Linked DNA regions of Homo sapiens: region 1 is linked to region 2. The links are contacts of gene promoters, found by promoter capture Hi-C in blood cells and fetal thymus (Javierre and others, 2016). All regions are on one chromosome and are shown on one strand. Each heading gives the region's core, a stretch centred on a gene start or on the middle of the fragment in contact. The rest is flanking DNA. Distances are from core to core; before and after follow the strand shown. Region 1 overlaps FLNB (filamin B). Region 2 holds the start of FLNB (filamin B).

The links. The method cuts DNA at HindIII sites, captures the fragments that hold promoters and counts their contacts. A CHiCAGO score of 5 or more calls a contact.
Region 1: a fragment that was not itself captured here is called in contact with the fragment with the promoter of FLNB in region 2 in 1 of 17 cell types (endothelial precursors); the score reaches 7.5 in endothelial precursors.

What each region holds. Positions count from the first base shown.
Region 1 is chr3:58,086,950-58,090,724 of GRCh38, reverse strand. All of the region lies in intron 4 of FLNB (filamin B), which reads right to left. Among named protein-coding and RNA genes, the nearest start is that of FLNB, 80 kb to the right of the region's middle. The HindIII fragment of the contact is 1,730 bases long and covers 623-2,352 here.
Region 2 is chr3:58,006,201-58,009,900 of GRCh38, reverse strand. It overlaps FLNB (filamin B), which reads right to left and starts at 1,479. Exons shown (of 46, transcript NM_001457.4): 1 at 1,045-1,479. The coding sequence starts at 1,336. The HindIII fragment of the contact is 11,042 bases long and covers 1-3,700 here.

The sequences.
Region 1 (3,775 bases), core at 238-2,737, 81 kb before region 2:
TGCATACTTCTTCATTATATACAGCTCAATTTTATTTGCTAATATAGTCATTTGCTAAATAATGAAGTTTCAGTCAAAAATAGTCCACACATACAATGATGGTCCCGTAAGATTATAAATAGAGCCAAAAAATTCCTGTTGCCTACTGACGTCACAGTAACGCATCGCATTACTCATGTATTTGTGATGATGCTGGTATAAACAAACCCACTGGGCTACCGGCCATAGAAACATATATAGCACAGACAATTATGTTCAATACATAATACTTGATGATAAATGACAATGCTACTGGTTTATGTATTTAATATGCTATACTTTTTATCATTATATTTTAGAGTGGGCATCTTCTATTTAAAAATTAAGTTAACTGTAAAGCAGCCTCAAGCAAGTCCTTCAGGAAATATTCTAGAAGAAGGCATTGTTATTATAGGAGACGGCGGTTCCACACATTACTGCTCTTGACGACCTACCAGTGGGACAGTGGGACAGGATTTGGAGGTGGAAGATAGTGATAATGATGATCCTGACCCTGTGTAAGTCTAGACTAATGTGTGTGTTTAAAAAAAAAAAAAAGTTTTAAAAGTACAAAAATGAAAAGTTTTAAACACAGAAAAAAGCTTACAGAGGCCGGGTCCAGTGGCTCACACCTGTAATCCCAGCACTTTGGATCACCTAAGGTGGATTACCGAGGTGGATCACCTAAGGTCAGGAGTTCAAGACCAGCCAGGCCAACAGGGTGAAACTACGTCTCTACTAAAAATAAAAAAATTAGCCAGAAGTGGTGGTGGGCACCTGTAAGCCCAGCTACTAGGGAGGCTGAGGCAGGAGAATAGCTTGAACCCAGGAGGCAGAGGTTGCAGTAAGCCAAGATCACTCCACTGTACTCTAGCCTGGGTGACAAGAGCAAAACTCCACCTCAGAACAAAACAACCAATTGTTGTCCAGTTGAAGGATTCTTTTCTCTGTCCTTCCACCCTGCTATTGCGCTTATCCAATAAGTTTTTATTTCAGTTACTGCAATTTCCAATTCTAAAATGTCCATTTGGTTCTTTTTATCTCCTAAATTTTTATTATTATTTTGCTGGGACATTGTATTTCTTTGTTGAGATTTTTAATTTTTTCATTTTTTTCATGATTGTTCTTAACTGCCTACCGAAGCCTTTTTTTTTTTTTTTGAGATGGAGTCTCACTCTTCTTGCCCAGGCTGGAGGGCAACGGCATGACCTCAGCTCACTGCAACCTCCACCTCCCAGTTTCAAGCGATTCTCCTGCCTCAGCCTCCCGAGTAGCTGGGATTACAGGTGCCCACCACCTCACCTGGCTAATTTTTTGTATTTTTAGTAGAGACTGGGTTTCATAAGGTTGGTCAGGCTGGTATCGAATTCCTGACCTCAGGTGATCTGCCCGCCTCGGCCTCCCAAAGTCCTGGGATTACAAGCCTCCCAAAGTGAGCCACCACGCCTGGCTACTGAAGCCTTTTTTAATGGCTGCTTTAAAATTTTTGTCATAGGATTCTAACATCTCTATCACCTCAGTGTTGGCATCAACTGTCTTTTTCATTCAGTTTGAGATCTTCCTGGTTCTTGGTATGACAAGTGATTTCTTTTTTTTTTTGAAACTGGATATTTGGGGTATCATGTAATGAGACTCTGGGTCTTCTGTAAATGTTCTGTTGTAGCTGGCATTTTATGATACCACTGTGGCAGGGGAGGGAAGGGTACACACCTTGTTACTAACAGTGGGGGAAGAAGTCTAGGCTCTCCATTCAACCTCGACTGATGCTCAAGATTGGGGGGCTCATTACTGGTGCGTGAAGGTGGGAGTTCTGGCTGGAGGAAGTAGGAGTGCCTCATTACTGCTCCTCCATGGCCCCGGAGAGTGGCTTCCTTATTGCTAGACTGTTGTCAAAGCCTAGGCTCCCCATTCACCTCTGCGGGTGTAAGTGTGGGGCTGCATAGTTTTTTCTATGGTGTGGACCTGGAGTAGAGCAGTGACTCTTTAAGTTTTCTGCCTCACTGGGCTGCCCTTTCCTGGTCTTCTGGCTGGACAGGGGAGCTTTTGTTGGCACTTTCTGTGTTTGTGCCCACTGGCATTTTCAGGTTGTCAGCTTCTTTCTTTGGCTCCAAGTCTGGGATATATAAAGCAAAGTAAACCCAAGGAACTCAGTACTGTGTCATTCCTCGAGTCCCAAGATCCCTGGTTGGTCTGCCTCATCCTTTTTCAGAGGCTCCCTGTGTTTTCCTTATGTATAGCCCAGGGGTTTTAGTTGTAGTTAGAAGAAAGAATTAGGAAAAGTCCTATTCCATCTTCCCAGGAGCAGAAGTCCAAATATTACCTTTTTAAAAAGCTTTTTATTATGAAGAATTCCAAACTAGGCTGGACACAGTGGCTCACACCTGTAATTCCAGCAATTTGGGAGGCCAAGGCAGGTGGATTACCTGAGGTCAGGAGTTCGAGACCAGCCTGGCCAACATGGTGAAACTCCGTCTCTACTAAAAATACAAAAATTAGCCAGGTGTGATGGTAGATGCCTATAATCTCAGCTACTCGGGAGGCTGAGGCAGGAGAATCCCTTGAACCCAGGAGGCAGAGGCGGGGGTTGCAGCGAGCCAAGATCATACCATTGCACTCCAACCTGTGAAACAGAAGTGAAACTTCAGCAAAAAAAAAAAAAAAAAAAAAAGGCTGGGCGCCGTGGTTCACACCTGTAATCTCAGCACTTTCGAGGCCAAGGTGGGCAGATCACCCAAGGTCAGCAGTTCAAGACCAGCCTGACCAACATGGTGTAACCTTGTCTCTACTAAAAATACAAAATTGGCGGGGTGTGGTGGTGCATGCCTGTAATCCCAGCTACTTGGGAGGCTGAGGCAGGAGAATTACTTGAATCCAGGAGGCAGAGGTTGCAGTGAGCCGAGATCGTGCCATTGCACTCCAGCCTGGGCAACAAGAGCGAAACTCTGTCTCAAAAAAAAGGCTGGGCGCAGTGGCTCACACCTGTAATCCCAACACTTCGGGAGGCCGAGGCAGGTGGATCACGAGGTCAGGAGTTCAAGACCAGCCTGGCCAAGATGGTGAAACCCCATCTCTACTAAAACTACAAAATTAGCCGGGTGTGGTGGTGGGCGCCTGTAATCCCAGCTACTTGGCAGGCTGAGGCAGGAGAACGCTTGAACCCGGGCAGCAGAGGTTGCAGTGGGCCGAGATCATGCCACTGCACTCCAGCCTGGGCGACAGAGTGAGACTCCGTCTCAAAAAAAAAAAAGAATTACAAACACAGATGTAGAGAGCACTGCACAGTGGACCTCCTGTACCCAGCTTCAACAACTATCAACTCACAGCTGGTCTTGTTTCACCTTCACTCCCGCCACCTCCCCTTCCTGTATTATTTTGACACAAATCCTAGACCTCAGATTTTTTATCCACAATCACTATGTATCCTTAAAAGATACTTGCAAAGTACCCACAATATCGATACCATATAAAAAAAAATAATTCCTTAATGTCAAATATTCAGTGTTCAAATTTTCAATTATCTTATAAATATCATGAATTTCTTACAGCACCTTGAGCTGCTGCTTTATCATGAATTTTTATTTGTTTGTTTGTTTGTTTGAGACAGAGTCTAGCTCTGTCGCCAGCCTGGAGTGCAGTGGCGCCATCTCGGTTCACTGCAACCTCCACCTCCCAGGTTCAAGCGATTTTCCTGCCTCAGCCTCCCAAGTAGCTGGGACTACAGGCACATGCCGCCATGCCCAGCTAATTTTTGTATTTT
Region 2 (3,700 bases), core at 230-2,729:
CCAACTATCTCAGACCACAAGGGAGACTTCATCCTTATTCTTCCTCCCCAGACCAGAAGGCCCAGTCCAGCAAGAGACACCAATTCCCTCCCTCCTTTCAGGAAGACCCTGGTGTAGGTTTGGGAGAGGAGAGGAAAACAAAGCCTCCTTCTAACTGTTGCCCACTTCCTTCAGTTCTCAGCTGGGCCCTACTTGCTGACCTTGGACAGGTCAATTAACCCTCCGGACCCCCTTATCTGTAAAATGGGTCTAGCCTCACCCCAGATGGCAGGATGCGTAGGGACGGAGATAACTTAGAAGGCTGACGGTACACAGTGGACGCTAGTTGGGCTCCCTACAAGACAGCAATTACTGTTACCACCACCATCTCTAAATTATAACTTCGGCAGCAAGGAGTGGGTTCAACCTGCGGCGCGCGGCCAGAGCTGAGCTGGGAGCAGAGAGAGCGAGGACACACACCCGCGCCTACCCTTGCAACCTCGGGGCCCACACCCATTCCAGCGACGGCAGGGGAAGGTACCAGGTCTCTGTCTCCACCTGGGCAGGGAGGCCCCAGGCGCAGAGAACGGTTCCTCCTCAGGTCTCACGGCCCGGCCTCCGAGCCAACGCCCATTCAGCTGCCTCTGAGAGCACCAACCTGGGCGCAGCAGGGAGAGCACTCCGCGGAGCATCTGACCCTAGGGCCCGCCCCCGGGGACAGCGAACGAGGGTTTCTAGTCCCCTAGCTCCCATAGGGGCGCCCCAGGTGTAGAGAAATGCAACAACTCCACCTCTCCTCCTGTGACCCCAGCCCAAACCCTCAACCCTTAGCCAGCCAAAGGTGCACTGCTGGGGCGGATGGCGGGGAGCGATCACAACAGGTCCCATCCCAGGGGAAGACACCGGGGAGGGGGTCTAGGCCCCCTATAACCCACCCCTGGGGACGACTCCCCCTTATCTCCGAGGTGGGGGCGCGCTGCGGGAAATCCTCGCCCTCCGCAGGGGTGCACGCGCGGGGGCGGGTCGGCACCACAGTGGGCGCCTGGGCCCGGCCAGAGAACTCACCGATGGACACGAGCTTGATGCTCTCACGGTCCAGGAACTCGAGCGCCACGGACACATTCTCGAGCTGCATCTGGCGAAAGGTGGGCCGCTGATGGTACTTGCGGTACATGCGCTTCTGGCTGAGCACCTCGAGCAGCGCGATGAGCCGCAGCCCGTCGCTCAGGTCGGTCTGCAGGTTGCCGATGCGTTTGTTCACGCACTTGAGGTGCTCGTTGCACCAGCGTGTGAACGTGTTCTGCTGGATCTTCTTCCAAGGCGCGTCCTCAGCTAGATCCTTCTCGGTTACCGGCATCCTGGTGGCGGGGAGAGCGCAATGCGCAACGAGCTGCCGGGGACTGGTGTTTGGAGGCCCAAGGGCCGAAGGAGCGAGAACCGAAGCGGAGCGGGAGCGGGGTTCGAACTTGCTGCTACCGGAGCCACGGCCGGTGCTGCTCTGCGGCCGCCCGCCCCTGGCCGCGCGAGGCGCCTGGCCCCGCGCCTGCGCGCTGAGCCGCCCCGCCCCCAAGCCCCGCCCCGTCCCGACCCTCCCGCGGGAGTTCCTGGGCCACGCTCGCCTCCTGCCGCCTGCCGCAGGCACTGCGCCCCACTGCGTCCTGGGACCCGCGCTCGAAGCCCACCACCCCAGCAGGATGTAGGGCTGCCTGAATCACCCGGTCAGCCCCGGGGTGGGGGGACCCGCGGGGGCTGGGAGCCGGACAGAATGGGTCGGGCCTCAGTGGGACTTGCGGGAGGGGCGCGCGGGGCGGAGGTCTTCATCCACATATAGATTGAATAAAATTCAGTAAGGGCTTTTATTGAGCTCCGCCTGTGTACCAGCCATTCTTCTCAGAGCCTGCTAACCAGTAGTAAATCAGACAAACGTATTGCACAACCTCAAGGAGTTCACACAGCCTAATGGAAGAGAAAAGTGTAATTCCACCATAACCAACAGCCCAGTAGTGGTGGTAAAAATGAACAATAAGGCTTGTTGCATGTCTTAGTTTCCAGTTACTGCTGTAACAAGTTACCAAAACTTAGTGTCTTTGAAAACACACACCCACAAATGTATTATCCTTCAGTTCTGTAGGTTCGATGGCCCACACAGGTCTTGCTGAGCTAAAAACAAAGTGTTGGCAGGATGCATTCCCTTCTGGAGGCTGTAGGGAAGAATCTGTTTCCTTGTGTTTTCTAACTTCCAGAAGCTGCCTGCGCGCCTGACTCCTGCCCCTTTTCTCTGTGAAAGCCTGCAATGGGCTGGGCACAATGGCTCACACCTGTAATCCCAGCACTTTGGGAGGCCAAGGTGGGTGGATCACCTGAGGTCAGGAGTTCGAGACCAGCCTGGCCAACATGGTAAAACCCCATCTCTACTTAAAATACAAAAATTAGCCAGGTGTGGTGGCGCGTACCTGTAATCCCAGCTACTGGGAAGGCTGAGATAGGAGAATCGCTTGAACCTGGGAGGCAGAGGTTACAGTGAGCTGAGATGGTGCCATTGCACTCCAGCCTGGGCGACAGAGCAAAACTCCGTCTCAAAAAAAAAAAAAAAAAAAAAAAAAACAGAAAAGCAAGCCTGCAATGTCAGGTGGAGTCTCTCAGACCTCAGACAGTCCTCTCTCCATAGGCACATCTTCCTTTTTTTTTTTTTTCCTGCGATGGAGTCTTACTCCGTTGCCCAGGCTAGAGTCCAGTGGTGCAATCTCGGCTCACTGCAACCTCCTCCTCCTGGGTTCAAGCAATTCTCTTGCCTCAACCTCCTGAGTGGCTGGGATTACAGGCACCCGCCACCACGCTCCGCTAATTTTTGTATTTTTAATAGAGACGGGCTTTCACCATGTTGGCCAGGCTGGTCTTGAACTCCTGACCTCAAGCGATCCACCAGCCTCTGCCTCCCAAAGTGATGGGATTACAGGCATGAGCCACCTTGCCCAGCCTTTTTTTTGTCTCACTCCGTCTCCCAAACTGGAGTGCTATGACTCAATCTCGGCTCCCTGCAGCTTCAACCTCCCCACACCTGGCCCTTTTAAGGACTCTTAAGATGACATTGGGCCAGCTGGTTAGTCCAACATGATCTCCCTATTTTAAAATCAGCCGATTAAGAACCCTAATCCTGTTTGCAACCTTAATTCCCCTTTGCCATTTAAGGGAATGTTCACAGGTCCTGAGAGTTAGGATGTGAACGTCTTTGGGGGCTATTACTCTGCCTACCACAGCATACATTGAGCACTTACTCTGTACTCATCCAGGTTCTGTGCTAGGTTCTGAGATATGGCAGAGTCTCAGGCCAGCCCTCTGTTGATAAAAGCCTGAATAATTACAACAGCAAGCATTGAATGAACACCTGCTGTTCCTCTGTGCCAAGCACAGTGCAAAGCAATTTCTTTCAAGTCGGGTGCAGTGGCTCACACCTGTAATCCCAGCACCTTGGGAGGCCAAGGTGGGCAGATCACCTGAGGTCAGGAGTTCGAGACCAGCCTGACCAACATGAAAAAACCCTAGCTCTACTAAAAATACAAAAAATTAGCTGGGCGTGGTGGCGCATGCCTGTAATCCCAGCTACTTGGGAGGCTGAGGCAGGAGAATCGCTTGAACCCAGGAGGCAGAGGTTGTGGTGAGCCAAGATTGCACTCCAGCCTGGGCAATAACAGTGAAACTCTGTCTCAAAAAAAAAAAAAGA